5 separate regions of the Homo sapiens genome follow, and all the other regions are linked to region 5. The links are contacts of gene promoters, found by promoter capture Hi-C in blood cells and fetal thymus (Javierre and others, 2016). All regions are on one chromosome and are shown on one strand. Each heading gives the region's core, a stretch centred on a gene start or on the middle of the fragment in contact. The rest is flanking DNA. Distances are from core to core; before and after follow the strand shown. Region 1 overlaps ALK (ALK receptor tyrosine kinase). Region 2 overlaps ALK (ALK receptor tyrosine kinase). Region 3 has its middle 20 kb from the start of TOGARAM2. Region 4 overlaps ALK (ALK receptor tyrosine kinase). Region 5 holds the start of ALK (ALK receptor tyrosine kinase).

Evidence for each region. Contacts are between HindIII fragments. The CHiCAGO score rates a contact against its expected background, and 5 or more counts as called.
Region 1: a contact is called between a fragment that was not itself captured here and the fragment with the promoter of ALK in region 5, in 1 of 17 cell types (M1 macrophages). The highest score is 6.8, in M1 macrophages.
Region 2: a contact is called between a fragment that was not itself captured here and the fragment with the promoter of ALK in region 5, in 1 of 17 cell types (M0 macrophages). The highest score is 5.1, in M0 macrophages.
Region 3: a contact is called between a fragment that was not itself captured here and the fragment with the promoter of ALK in region 5, in 2 of 17 cell types (endothelial precursors and megakaryocytes). The highest score is 8.4, in endothelial precursors.
Region 4: a fragment that was not itself captured here is called in contact with the fragment with the promoter of ALK in region 5 in 2 of 17 cell types (M0 macrophages and M1 macrophages); the score reaches 7.2 in M0 macrophages.

Annotation. Positions count from the first base shown.
Region 1 is chr2:29,259,678-29,262,377 of GRCh38, forward strand. The region is part of intron 11 of ALK (ALK receptor tyrosine kinase); the gene reads right to left. Among named protein-coding and RNA genes, the nearest start is that of CLIP4, 150 kb to the left of the region's middle. The HindIII fragment of the contact is 2,997 bases long and covers 1-2,700 here.
Region 2 is chr2:29,315,968-29,318,667 of GRCh38, forward strand. It overlaps ALK (ALK receptor tyrosine kinase), which reads right to left. Exons shown (of 29, transcript NM_004304.5): 8 at 2,337-2,437. Among named protein-coding and RNA genes, the nearest start is that of CLIP4, 200 kb to the left of the region's middle. The HindIII fragment of the contact is 6,615 bases long and covers 1-2,700 here.
Region 3 is chr2:28,959,703-28,962,402 of GRCh38, forward strand. It overlaps a transcript of TOGARAM2 not described here. Among named protein-coding and RNA genes, the nearest start is that of TOGARAM2, 20 kb to the right of the region's middle. The HindIII fragment of the contact is 393 bases long and covers 1,219-1,611 here.
Region 4 is chr2:29,239,702-29,242,401 of GRCh38, forward strand. It overlaps ALK (ALK receptor tyrosine kinase), which reads right to left. Exons shown (of 29, transcript NM_004304.5): 13 at 1-129. Among named protein-coding and RNA genes, the nearest start is that of CLIP4, 130 kb to the left of the region's middle. The HindIII fragment of the contact is 3,930 bases long and covers 1-2,700 here.
Region 5 is chr2:29,920,336-29,923,035 of GRCh38, forward strand. It overlaps ALK (ALK receptor tyrosine kinase), which reads right to left and starts at 1,251. Exons shown (of 29, transcript NM_004304.5): 1 at 1-1,251. The coding sequence starts at 324. The HindIII fragment of the contact is 5,353 bases long and covers 1-2,700 here.

The DNA of each region.
Region 1 (2,700 bases), core at 33-2,532, 660 kb before region 5:
TTTCTATTTAAAGTCCAGCAATTTTACTAGAATACACATTGGTACCGCTCATTCTGGGTTAATATTCTTAGGTATACAGTGTGCTCTTTTAACAAGTAGCTTCAATAAGGATATTTTCCTGGAGTTATACTTTTAAGTATTTTGTTTTGTTCTAGTTATTCGGTTTTCTTCGTCAGGTCTTTCAATTATTTCTATGTTGGATCTTCATGTATATTCTAGTAAAGTTGCCGGACTTTAAAATAAAAAGAAAAAAATACTTTGGGCACCTAAGCAAAATAGCAAATGACTTATTAGAGAAGGAAATTTAGAATTATCAGAGTTTTTGACAGCAACACTTTATATAACAAGAAAATAGAGTCTTTGATGTGTGTCATCTTTTTCATTTTAAAAAATTTCCTCTTTTTAACTTCTATTTCTTATAAGGCATAAACTGTTGTGTTTGTTGGCTTTTTGTTCCTTCCCTTAATAGATTAGCCTTCATTTTTGAAAATAGTTTTTCTTTTATTGCAAATTCTTTGCTGAGTTCTAGCACCACATTTCTGTTTTTCTTACAATGACTTACGTTATTTTTCATGTCTTGTATTATTGTTTTTGTGTCTTTTAGCTCATTTTAAAACAGAAGGTTAGATTCTGACTCATCCAATAAGCACGTCTTTCTGGCATGATTTTGCTTTCTGTAGGCGTGTTATTCCGCCCTCTGTATCCTGTTTTTGTTTTCTTATTTTAATTTTGAATGATATTTGATCTTGATGCTCTTCTGTTATGTATTTTTATGTGAGATTAGTTTTCCTGGATTTTTAGGGTTCAGGAGCTTTTTTATTTCACAGAACTCCCTCTACTCCTTTTTTTAATACAGTGTTCAAAAATATGGCAGTTTGGCCAGGTGTGGTGACTCATGCCTGTAATCCCAGCACTTTGGGAGGCTGAGGCAGGTGGATCACCTGAGGTCAGGAGTTCAAGACCAGACTGGCCAACGTGGTAAAACCGTCTCTACTGAAAATACAAATATTAGCCAGGTATGGTGGTGGGTGCCTATGTCCCAGCTACTTGGGAGGCTGAGGCAGGTGAATCACCTGAAGCCAGGAGGCTGAGGTTGCAGCGAGCTCAGATCATGCCACTGCACTCCAGCTTGGGTGACAGAGGGAGACTCTGCCTCAAAAACAAAACAAAACAAAAAAAAAAACAACAACAAAAAAACGCAGTTTGCTTTCTGAGGTTTCTGACTGTTTCTTTCCTTCACTTTTATCTGGACATTCTCTTATTTATTCTCTATTATCCCTTTCCTACTCAATATTGATTTTATCCCCAGAACTTTCTTCTCCAAGTGGGCCCTTTCCTGCAATGACGTTTGCTGGCCAGGCTGCTCCAGCGCCTTCAGATCTGACTGTGGTACTCCTGGTCCCCTGCACTGGGCAAAGCCGCTCCCACTTTCAGAAGCTGCTCTCAGACTGGCTTTCTGTAATTTCTAGCAACTATCTCTTGGCTACTTAGGGGTTCTCCTGTTCTCAGGCCTGTTTCTTTCCTGTCTTATATCTTGTACAGATGCTGATACCATGCAGGTCTTGTGGTTGTTGGTGCTTTGACCTATCTCACTTGCATTTTGAAGTTTTAGGGGAATGCCTTATTTTCAAATTTTGCTGTCAATATTGTTCATGGGTTTTCAGTTTTGATATATGGGTGTTCTGTGCTTATGTAGGGATTTGGAAAGATTAAAAAAAAAAAACTATGCTGTTACCACCATCACTGCCCTCTTCCCAGAATCCTAGAAACATTTTTTAAATGTAGAAATCATTTGAGCTCATTTGCTATGGTGAGCCCCTGTATGCCATTTATCTGGTCAGAGCCCTCACCTGCATTTCTCTTCCTGGGCTGCAGGTTTGTTTTTTCAGATTTCACCTCAGGGACATCTCCAATGACCATGGTCTAGAACCTGCCGTTTCATTATGCTCTGCCTATTTTCGATACAGCTCACTAAGTATAATTTAACCTTTTCTTGATAGTGCTTCCCAGACTTAATGAGTTGTTTAGGGCTATTTGACTCTTCACTAAATGGCCTCAGGCATAAATATTTTATAGTGACTCTGTCTCTGCTGGCAGGTGTCTCTCGGTACTGCAGCATGTCCACCCGTGTTTAATCTTACTTTACCTCTAAGATCAGGTGAGGGCATGAGAGTGGCCCTACCCCTCTTCATGTATCAGGCTAAGGGGCAGTTAACTGCAGAAAATCTTTATGTCACAGTTTTGGAACGTATTTATATTTTGGCATTTATATTTGGTGGATGGTGGAAGGTATTGGAAGTCTAACTTCAGATAAAAGGATGGTATCATGATTCTGAATGAACAGGGTTGAGAATGTTGAGGCCTTCAATTTCAATGGACAATTTATGGTACATTTCTCCTCCAGTAAGCCTAGCTCCTTACAACCACGATAGGTCAGTAGATAGGGAAGGGAGAAGAACTGTGACTTTTGTCTCATAAGTCATGCAATCATGTAGAAAAGTTAAGCAATTGGCCAGTGATTGCAAAGTAAACCTGGGGCTAAGTGAGGAGGGGCACATCACCTTCCCTCTTTCTACAACACGAACTGTTTTCAGTTGATGAATTTTCCATGCTGTTCTTCCAGCTTGTTTCTCAGACCGAATTTATTTGCGTGTATGTGCATGCACAGGTACACACATGTGTGTGCTTATACACATACAT
Region 2 (2,700 bases), core at 106-2,605, 600 kb before region 5:
TGCACTCGGGCCCCATAGGCAACAGAGGCCCCTGTAGGGTTGGTGGGGTTTGAAAGCCCTGAGTGAACCTCACATAGTCCCCCAGAGAAATGCAATATCCATTTTTTTCTGCCACTGGGGTTTAGCCCGCCCGGGAGGAGGAAATCAACTTCCTGCATTCTGCATTTAGGATTCACATAAAATAAATGGTAGGGCTTACAAATCTAGAAATGCATATTTCTATTTTGGTTATTTATTTTCCTGATAAAAACATTTCTCCCAACATTGGGAATTCAAAGACCCATCAGCATTAGACAAATGGTCTGAAAACCTGAATGTGAAATCATATGAATATATATAAATATAAATAATGTGAGTGTGGAATGGACTTATTCCCTTCCTTTCATTATGCCTGCTGAGCCAAGTTCTGGAAAAGGGCAGGGAATAGCAGAAACAGCCCAGAGCAAATTAGACTGCAGGAAAAATAAAACAGGCCAGTAAAACGAAACACCTGTTTAAGCTATTGATCAACTCAAAGGTTATTAGAGAAATGATGAAGTATTAGAATAATATCATTTGTACCTTGACATTTCTTTTTCTGAAATTTGGCTCATATTAAACCCAGCGAAGAGTAAATTTAAAGACCAAATGCTCTTAAGGATCCTCCCGTCCTCTCCGGTGGGCCAACCATCTGTCTTCATTTATATGTTCTCTCAAAAAGCCTTCCTTTCTAGGTACCTGCTCTCAGACACCTGAGAAATATCAGCAATGACTGTGTAATTCCACCATCTGCATGAGATAGCATGGTTTCTCAAACACAATTTAATTTAATGAATCTATTTATTTGTGCTCAGAATTCTTCCAAAAAGGATTTAAGGTGGTTCACAGAGATACATAAAATCTAGTAGGATAGCATAGCCTAGAAGAGGGTGAGAAGGAAGTGGCGAATGTCGAGTTATAAAATCAAACCAGGAGTAAGCTGCTACAAATTGCATATCACAAAGTCCCATTTGCTTGCCAAGTGGAGCCTTGGTTTTAATTTAACCACTCCTCGGATTAAAAAATCATTTCTACATCTTTTCCATTCTTATTTGTTTTCTGTCTGTGAGTTTTTATTTTATGAGAAACTCGAGGGGCTTGATTCTGCCTGCATCCCTTAGCAGGGGCAATCCTGTTGTCTGTCCCTCTGCTGGCCACAGAACCACCACCCTGGGATTTCTATTAGCCACAGAAGGAGAAGTGAATCTGGTCAGTTTCACAATGTCTACAACTTGACAGGAAACAAATTGCTCAGAGGGTGCATAGCTATTCCTGAAACTGAGCCAGACAGGAATTTCTCCTGTGAGTGTCCAGAACGAGATGACTGGCCAAACCCAAACTACGTGTAGGTTTTCTACTACACGCAAGATGTTGATGCAGGTGCAGTGAGGGAGTACAAAGAAGCACAAGACATGGCCTGCTCTCTTGGAGCTTACAGTCTGATTTCTGGCTCAAGTTCTCTTCCTCTTCCCCCAGTGTCCTTCTGAATGTTGATACAGTGTGCCAGGCACCCTGTGGGCTAAATACTGCAGTGCTTACTTTGTGCCCAATGCTCTTCCAAGCCCTTTGGACATTATCTATTTAATCCTCACTCTTCAGGATAGGCACTATAAATGTGTTCACTTTCCCAGTGAGGAAACTGAAGCCCCAAGAGGTTAATTAACTGCCCAAACAAACTATACAATCAATCAGTGGTGGAACCCGACTTGGACTCAGAAATTTGATTCTAGAGTCCATGAGCTTAATCACTGTACCATGCTGGGGTCTTAAGTACATTTCTTGGCCCCTAAAGAATATGACTGTATGCTAAGGAACAGGGCGCCAGTCCCTCCACCCACACCAATGAGATAACAGCATCAGGAACCATTTGAGAGAGTAGTTTTGGAGGTACCTCACTGAATGCCATTGATGTCTTAGTGAAATTTATGTAAATCAAATTTTTGAGGATGTATAGTATTTACAATGTATTACAAGAGCTCAATGTTTTTAAAAAGGATTCTGTAGAAAGTCTTTTGCAATCCTTGTCACTCTCCCTTGTTATGCCATGGAAAATCTCTTCTGGGTTTGATTAAATCATGGTTCTACTGCAAGTAGTTCAGTGCAGCTGGGTATGGCTGTTTAAGGCATGATTCTCTGTAGATAGGGCTTTACCATGTTGATGGACATGCTCTGCCTCGAAGATGGCAGAGGTGGCCCTCTTGTTCTCTCCCCAGGAGAACGACCAGCCCAGCCAGCTAGGCTACTTTCTTAATCTGGGTTCCGGAAGTGACAAGAGGTGGGAGGAGAAATTAGAGAACTAGAGAAACAAGGAGACTTGCCTCACATGGAGAGCTCTTGATCGGTGCAGGAAACGTAGCACTGGTCACTGTAGCACTTTCAGAAGCGGGGACATCAGTGGTACTGAGCAATAGAGCATGGTCTAGGAGAGAGGAAAAGAATCACAAGCACGCCATTATCAGGAACTGGGGGACCAGGGGTGCAGGGTTAATGGACTGTGCACAGTTCTTATCTAGCCTAGGGATATCTTTGAGGAAACAGGTTTCTGGCCTGCAATGGAGAAGAAAGCCCACCTGTCAACAATTTCTTTTTTTTTTTTTTTGAGACAGAGTCTTGCTCTGTAGCTCAGACCGGAGTGCAGTGGCGCGATCTTGGCTCACTGCAAGCTCCGCCTCCCGGGTTCAT
Region 3 (2,700 bases), core at 165-2,664, 960 kb before region 5:
ACTGCACTCCAGCCTGGGCGACAGAGTGAGACTCTGGCTCAAAAAAAAGAAAAAAAAGAATAGTATGATGATCTGTATATACACGCCACTTAAAGTAAAACACTGTTGATATAGTCATATGACCCTTAACAACGGGGATATGTTCTGAAAGATGTTGTTAGGTGAAATTGTGTCATTGTGAGAATCAAAGAGTGCACTGACATAAACCTGGGCGGCACAGCCCGCTACACATGTGGGCTATCTTATGTAGCCTACATTGTTTCTAGGCTACAAACCTGGACAGCATGTTCCTGGACTGAGTACTGTAGGCAGTTGGAACACAGAGAGATGTGTGTATCTAAACATAGAAAAAGCCAAGTAATACGCTATTGTATTATAATCTTATGGGACCACCGTTGTATATGTGGTCCAACATTGACCAAAATGTCATTATGCAGTCCATGACTATATTTGGCTATATTTTTCTTCATCTGTATTTGTGTGCATATATTTATTTTTGCTGATCTACTAGAAAGTAAACTGAAGGCATCATCACACTTTATTCTTAACTACTTCAGGGTGACGTGCCTACAGATTATGACTCCTGCAATAACTACAATACCATTCTTATATCTCTGAAGCTCCAAACCGTAATCCCCTAATACCATCCTCCTGTCTAATTATTTAATATTATTTAATTTTTAATTTTTTTTGAGGCAGAATCTTGCTCACTCTGTCACCCAGGCTGGAGTGTAGCAGCAGCACGTTAATATTCAGTTTCTTTTCAAATCAGGATCCAATCCACACTCACTCACTGGGTTTGTTTGTCAAGTCTTCTTTAGTTACTTTTGCTCTAAAACGGTCTCTTACCCTCTTGCCCCCTTAGTTTTATCTGTAACAATCACACACCGAGGAGACCAGGCCAGTTGTCTTGCAGAATGAGCCACATGCTGGATTAGATCATTTCCCTAAGTGAGTTTAACTCATTCCTGTACCCTCTGTATTTTCTATCATCTGGAAGTTGTACCTCGGAACTACCCAGTACAACTTTCTGTGATGACAGAAATGTTCTCTGTGCTGTCCAAAATGGAAGTCATTCACCGCAGGTGGCCAGTGAGCACCTAACATGTATCCATGTGGCTGAGTGACAGAATTGTTAATTTTATGTCATTCTCACTAATTTACGTTTAAATAGCCACATGTAGCTAGTGGCTATGGTCTGAAACAGCACAGGTCTTAAGCTTGATTCGATTTGACAAGACATCAAAGGTGATGCTGTATACTTCATACCGGAACACACCAAGAGGCAAGATAATGACAAAGTCTTTCTTTTTCTTTTTTTTGGTTTGAGTATGATGTTTAGTATAAGATAGAGTGGCTTGGCAGAGTTGGTGCAAAACTGAAGAGAACCAGATTCAGTTCTAGTCAGTGAGTTAGCAGCCTAGGGTCAAAAAAATTGACCCTGCTGTCCTGAGTCCTCTGAGGCCCTCTGCACATCACCAGCTAGAAGCTCCGAGACTGATATGCCACTGCTTGGAGGCTTGGGTAGAATCCAAGTGTCCTCAGTTTCCAGAGTGACAAGAGACTGGCCCCAGCCATCAGAGCAGTAGACAAAGGCTTTTGTTTAAAAAAAGCTTTGAGGTATAATTTATTATTTAATTTTTAATTTTTTTGGAGGCAGAATCTTTCTCACTCTGCCACCCAGGCTGGAGTGTAGTAACGCAAACTCGGCTCACAGCAACCTCCGCCTCCTAGATTCAAGCGATTCTCCCACCTCAGCCTCCCAAGTACCTGGGATTATAGGCGCCCGCCACCATGCCCGGCTAATTTTTGTATTTTAGTAGAGATGGGGTTTTACCATGTTGGCCAGGCTGGTCTCGAACTCCTGATCTCAAGTGATCTGCCCGCCTTGGCCTCCCAAAGTGCTGGGATTACAGGCATGAGCCACTGCACCCGGCATGAGGTGTAATTTATAATCAATAACAATATTTTAAGTGTAAAGGTCAATGAGTTTCAACAAATGTCTACACCTGTATAGTCACAACACAATCCAGATACAGAAGATTTCTGTTATCCCAAAGATTCCCTTGTGCAGCTTCCCAATTAATCCCAAATGTCCCTCTTTTCCACAAGTCTGAGGAAACCAGTGATATACTTTCTATCATTATGGAATAAGTGTCTTTGCTTCAGCTTCATATAAATAACATCATACAAAGATACTCTTTGTTTTTTCTCCAACTACAATTACTTTAAGTCTCTGAAACAATATTTCCTTACAACTTAAGTAGTTTTTACAGTAGTGACATTTATCATTGATGGGATTTGCTTGTTTAATATGACTATAGTCAGAAGGGAAGTTGGGCCTATTATTCTTCCAGAAATTAAAAAAAATCATCATTAAGGAAGAGAAAGATTTATATCATCTTTTTGGGACACGTAAGTCTCACAGTTGGAGAATTTGCGGATATTGCTATATACACTATATATACATACATAGTTTTTTTTTTTTTTTGAGACAGAGTCTCGCTCTGTCACCCAGGCTGGAGTGCACTGTCATGATCTCGGCTCACTGTAACCTCCATCTCCCGGGTTCAAGCAATTCTCCTGCCTCAGCCTCCCAAGTAGCTCAGATTACAGGCATGTGCCACCATGCCCAGCTAATTTTTGTATGTTTGGTAGAGACGGAGTTTCAGCATGTTGGCGAGGCTGGTCTCAAACTCC
Region 4 (2,700 bases), core at 133-2,632, 680 kb before region 5:
TGCTGCCCAACCAGGATGTACAGCATGTCATCCTTCTCCAGGTTGAAGATGCCCAGCACAGACACGCCGTGGGACCGCATCATGGTGTTCTTCCCGCCTTTCCCGCCAGCAGCTCCGTAGCCCGAGATGCTGCAATGGGACAAAGAACGTTGGCTCCCGCTGTGGTATGAAGACTGTCCCCCTTCCTGCCAACCCAGCAGCTTCCAGTGGGCTAAGCACATCGCCATCGTGGTCTGAGGGTTCTCCCCCATATCAGTCCCTGCAGAAAGGGATTCTTCTCCCCCACTTCAGGAAAGGACGATCAAGTTTAGAGAGGGACAGGGAGTTGCCTCAGTCACAGAACTAAGAAGGTGAAAGACTAGTAAAGGGTGCAAGAGAGAAAGAGAGGAAAAGGGCAGGGAGGAGGGAGGGAAGAAGGGAGAGAAGGAGGGGAGAGAGAGAGGGAAACAGCAGAGAGAGAGAGAGAGAGAGAGAGAGAGAGGAGACTATATGAATGTGGCATATTGGGGTGATGGCTTTCTGAATACCTAGGATTTCCTCATTATGGTTTTCTCTCCTTGTCCCAGATCAATGGACTCATGTGACCTTAGACAAGTAACTTCCCTATTCCTCATCTATACTATGGGGATAATAAGTGAACTTGCCTCCTAGCCTACATGTGCTATGAGGATTAAAGAAATTAAGACATGTGGTCTTAGAATTGTGGCTGACATGTAATAAGCACTCAATTAGTATTAGTTAATTATTATTATTATTAATGACGGTAGTAGCCATAATTGACTTGGTACAAAGTTGTAAAGTCTCCCCATGGGGTCTGGAAACAAGGAGGTTCCTCACAGAATGACTGAGGAGAGCAGTGTATATGAGCCGACTGTCTATTCCCATCTCACTGGTAACTCCTCCTGGAGAAATATGTGTGCAAACAAACAACCCATCATGATGAAAATAAAAACAGAGTGTGGGGATGGGAGATGATTTCTGCTGCCTCTTAGGTTGCTGCAATGAAGTCAAGCAAGGATGGGGAGAAAAGAACTCTCTTCTGAACCATATCAGAAGAGCGGCATGTCTTGAAGACAGCTAACGCACCAGCTAACAAATGTGTCCCCAGGGACCAGCTGCCAGGGTATGGGACTCGGCAGACTTTCACATCCATGTGTATTCAGATCCAAGGTCTTTTACAAAAAACCAGGAAGAGATGCAAGGCAGTTTTGCCCATGTGCACATAGTAGCTCCTTTATCTACAGTTCCAGGAAATGTCCCTTCTTCCAAGTGTGTGAGGGGCCTCCCGGAGCTCTCACAAGGCAGAGCCCACGGCCCTTCTGCAGAGGCTGTTTGCGAACATGGCAGGCAAGGAACTGAGGTCTTCATGGAATGCAAATGGAGAATCTAGTGCCCATTGCCCTGGTGAGTGCCTGGGCATTGATGGGAGTTTATTGAATGTTGGGAGCGGTGTAAGGCGTTGTGAACCTGAGATAGCTCCAGGCTCTTCAAGAGCTCACAAAGAAACTGAGGAGACGATCTTCATGATGAAAAGAGAAGTCTCACCATAGGGTGGCTATGTTGAGGAGGCAAAGTGGAGTGCTCCCGGGCTCCCTGATCAGGTGGGGCCATTTCCTGCCCCTGTGCCCTCTCTGAGCCCCAGCCCCTTTCCTAGTAAGAGAAGAATCATTTTCATTCCAAACAACATGATAGTCCAACAAAAGGAGCTCATGGGTGAAAGCCCCGGGGAAGCTGCAAATCTCTGGCCAAAATAAGGGTCGTCAGGTGCTTAGGGCCAGGAGGGAGATGGGGGATTGCGACAGGTGGTTGTGGGGTGTGGTGATGGGGTGAGGAAGGCTGATGTTGGCTTCACATGGAGCTTGCAGATGGGTAGGGCTCTGAGACAAGCAGAAAGAGGTGGTGGGAATTGGGGCTTGTGTGAACGGAAGTGAAGAAGCAGGGAGCCTCAAGTATGTCTGGCTGCAGCAGGTGGATGGAGGGGGAAGCTGAGGGCTGTAGGTTTGGAGAGGGCTGTGGGCTGATTACCAGCATCCTCCAATGTGCCAGGCACAATGCATGCTCACAGGCACACGGCATCACCCAATAGCCATAAACGGCAAATGTTATTAATCTCATTTGACAAATGAGGAAACTGAGGCTCAGAGGGACTAAGTAACTCATCTGAGGCCACACAGCCAGTCAGTGGCTGGCTATGGTCCAAACCCTTGCACATCCCCTCTTAGAGGTCATTTCCTCCCCAATGTGCTGCTGGGATGCACAAAGAGAGGGGTCTGAGAAGCTATTTGCCCCTCCTAATTCCCAGACTCTCAGCCAAACACTCCCTCCTGATCCATGAGAAATGGACAAGGTGATAACAATAATTAAAAGGCTGAGAAAAAGGAAGGCTTATTGGTGAAAGGTAAGAGGAAGCAGCATTATTTAGCTCAGTGAACCTGGGCAGGGGACGATGTGGCGGCTTCCTGTAGTCTAGGGACAGCAGTGTGGATGGGCCCCAACTCTGTCCTGCTCACTGCCCCAGGTTTCTGAGTCCTGGTCAGGCTGCATAAAAAAGTCATCTCCACCTGAAGATGTGGTTTGCTTGGAAAACTTCAGCCCAGGACAAAGTCCTCATCCTACCCACTCCTGCTGTGGTTGAGAGGTAAGCGTCATGCTGCCCATTCCTTTTGGCATCATTTGCATAGTCATTTGCATCAACCATGC
Region 5 (2,700 bases), core at 1-2,500:
GACCCCCGGCGCCGGCCCCAGCAACCTGAGCAGCGGGGCGCAGTCCAGAGCTAGCGAGCCGCGGGCCTCGGGCCTGCCAGCCTTCAGCTCCGAGGAGGATGGTGGCAGCAGTAGGTCCCGGGCGTAGACACGGAAGAGCGAGGGCACCACGAAGTCAACTGCCAGACTCTTCCTCTGCAGGCGCGAGTAGCTGAGTGGCTCCCGGGGCTGCAGCGGCGGCCCCGCAGCTGGGGAGCCCGCGCGCTGGCCGGTCCCCATCCCGGAGCCCACAGCTGCCGTGGAAAGCAGCAGCGGCAGGAGCCACAGGAGCCCGATGGCTCCCATCCCGCCGGAGGAGGCCGTTTACACTGCTCTCCGGGCCCAGCCTCACCCTTCGCTCTCCCCGAGATGGGAAGAGGCTCTGAACAGTCCTTGGTACCCAGCGGCTCCTTCCACCTGATCTCCAGAGGACTGTGCGTGCGCGCAAGTCTCTTGCTTTCCCCCAACTGCACGGAGGCGAGCAGGAGTCTAAATGAAACAGACCTGGAAGCTCAGGGGCGAGTCCAGAGACACTCAAGCACACTGGGCTCACTGGCTGGGACCTTGAGCCTCCCGCTCTCCGCGCCGAGTGCCGCGCCCCCGTCTGTAGCTCGCTGCGCTCGGTACAGAGGAACTACTATGGTTGAAGGGAGGTGGCAGTTGGGTACCGTCCTCTCCTGCCCCCCGCAGTCGGAGCTGGGGTCTGTCCCCTCTCGGGGCAGCCTCCAATCTCTGCAACTTTTAAGGCTGAGAACGGCGGCTCCCAGCTGCTGCACGCTGTCCTGGCCGCCTTTTGCGTTCCTTTTGGCTCCTCCAAGCTCTTCTGCCCGGTCTGGGCGGGAACCGAGGGCGGAGGCTGCCGTCTTGCGCACCCTCAAGCTATCTCTCCGCTGCGGGAAGGCTTCGGACTGTCTGCCTGCTGAACTTCTGGGCGTGAATCCCAGCCCCCGCGCTGCGCAAGTTTGCAGCGTCCTTGCTCTCACCGGCGCCTCGGCTCCTCAGAGTTCGCAGGCACTGGAGCGGCCCCGGCGGCAGCAGCTGAGGGCGTTCAGGGCAGGGGCGCCCGAAATCTTGCCGCCCCCTCCTCACCCATCATCAGCGCCCGCGGCTTTGGGTGGCCGACCAGAGGGCGGCCGGAAAGCACCTCGGTGCCCCGCGACCCTCCGAACAGAGGCGGCGGGAGGTACCAGCTGCTACCACCGCTGCCGCCCCCAGAGCCGCTGGATCGCATCTGCCTGGGCGCCCGCCACTTGCAGCTGGCTGAGCCGCGCGAGCGCGCGCAGGGAGGGGGCGGGGCCCGGAGGGGGCGGGGCTCACAAGCCAACTCCGCGCTGCTGCCCGACCCACGCAGTCCGGCCTCGCCCCGCCCCACCCGCACCCTCCAACCAATGGCGTGGCTCGATCGGCTCCTATGCAAATCTGCAGAGGCCTCGGCATTCATTGAGAAAAGGAGTGAGCCCGCCCCACCCTCCCTCTGTTCCCTCTCCAGTCTCTTGTTCTTCCCCTCCTCTAGATTCCCTGCCCTATTTCTCTGCAGTGTGAAAGGGAGCAAATGTGAGAACTGGAAGAGGCCTTTGCAATCAAGCACTCTCCCTAATTATACATTTAAGAGATTAAACGGGTCCGACTTCGGAAAAACAGGTTCCAGAATAAAACTGGAGGAGAGGGGAAGGGAGGGGGGAGTGGGAAGGGAGGAGGAAGTGGGGAGAGGGTGGCAGCGCGACACTGGCAAATCTGAGAACAGCTTGTATTAAGGCCCTGAGACAGAATATTTTCTGACCCATCTATTATTTGAATGCATTCCTGGGAGCTTAGGAGTCCTGCCGTCCACACAGGAGAATTTGGGAATAGGGGGGCAGAGAGGGATGGATGGTCTTGGTCTGGCAGAGTTGTTCTGCAGCTACAACAAATACCTTTCAGACCCCTGTCAGTCGCTCTGTTTTCTCAGAATGGTGTCTGAACATGTGTAACCTCCCCTAGTCTCTGTAAGGCAAACATTTTAATTCCAGATTTACAGATGCAGAAACTGAGTTGCAGAGCATTTAATTGTTTGCCCACAATCTTGGGAATGAGGGTTCAGAACCTTAGGCCTTTTTTACTCACCTGTAATGGCTGTACCTCTCCTCTCCCTTTCCTTTCGTCTCTCCTGAGCTGCCAACACAGAACTCATAATAGCTGTTTTTATAACAAGTGGTTCACTAGATCCTCAGACAAAACTACCATCTTTGGGTCACACAAATCCCCTTGATTCCTTCTTAAAGGCTGGTTGTCAGGCCTTGGGCTGACTGTTGAAGCTAAGAATAAGGCAAGATCCTCTCTGGAGCTCACGGCCTGTCGGGTAGCACAGGAGTTTTCTCACAGGATCAGAGCACAGTGTCACATTGAACCTCCCTCACTGAGCTCCTGGGGGCCGCAGTAACTTGCCTACCACCCCACAGGAGATAGTGGCCAGGTGGAACCTCTGTTCTCCTAGGAGCTGGGCCTTTCCAGCTTTGTGGCAATGCCTTGGCAAGTGGAAGACCCAGTAACAAAGGAATATTGATTCTCGGAATGGCTTTCTTCCTGCTCTATGTTTGGCAACTCACTTAATTTGACAGGCATCTGCCCTCTCTCTGGAAGTCACACTGGATACACTGACTTTACAAGTTTCAGGGCAAAGAATTATCTCACCCGAGAAGAAAA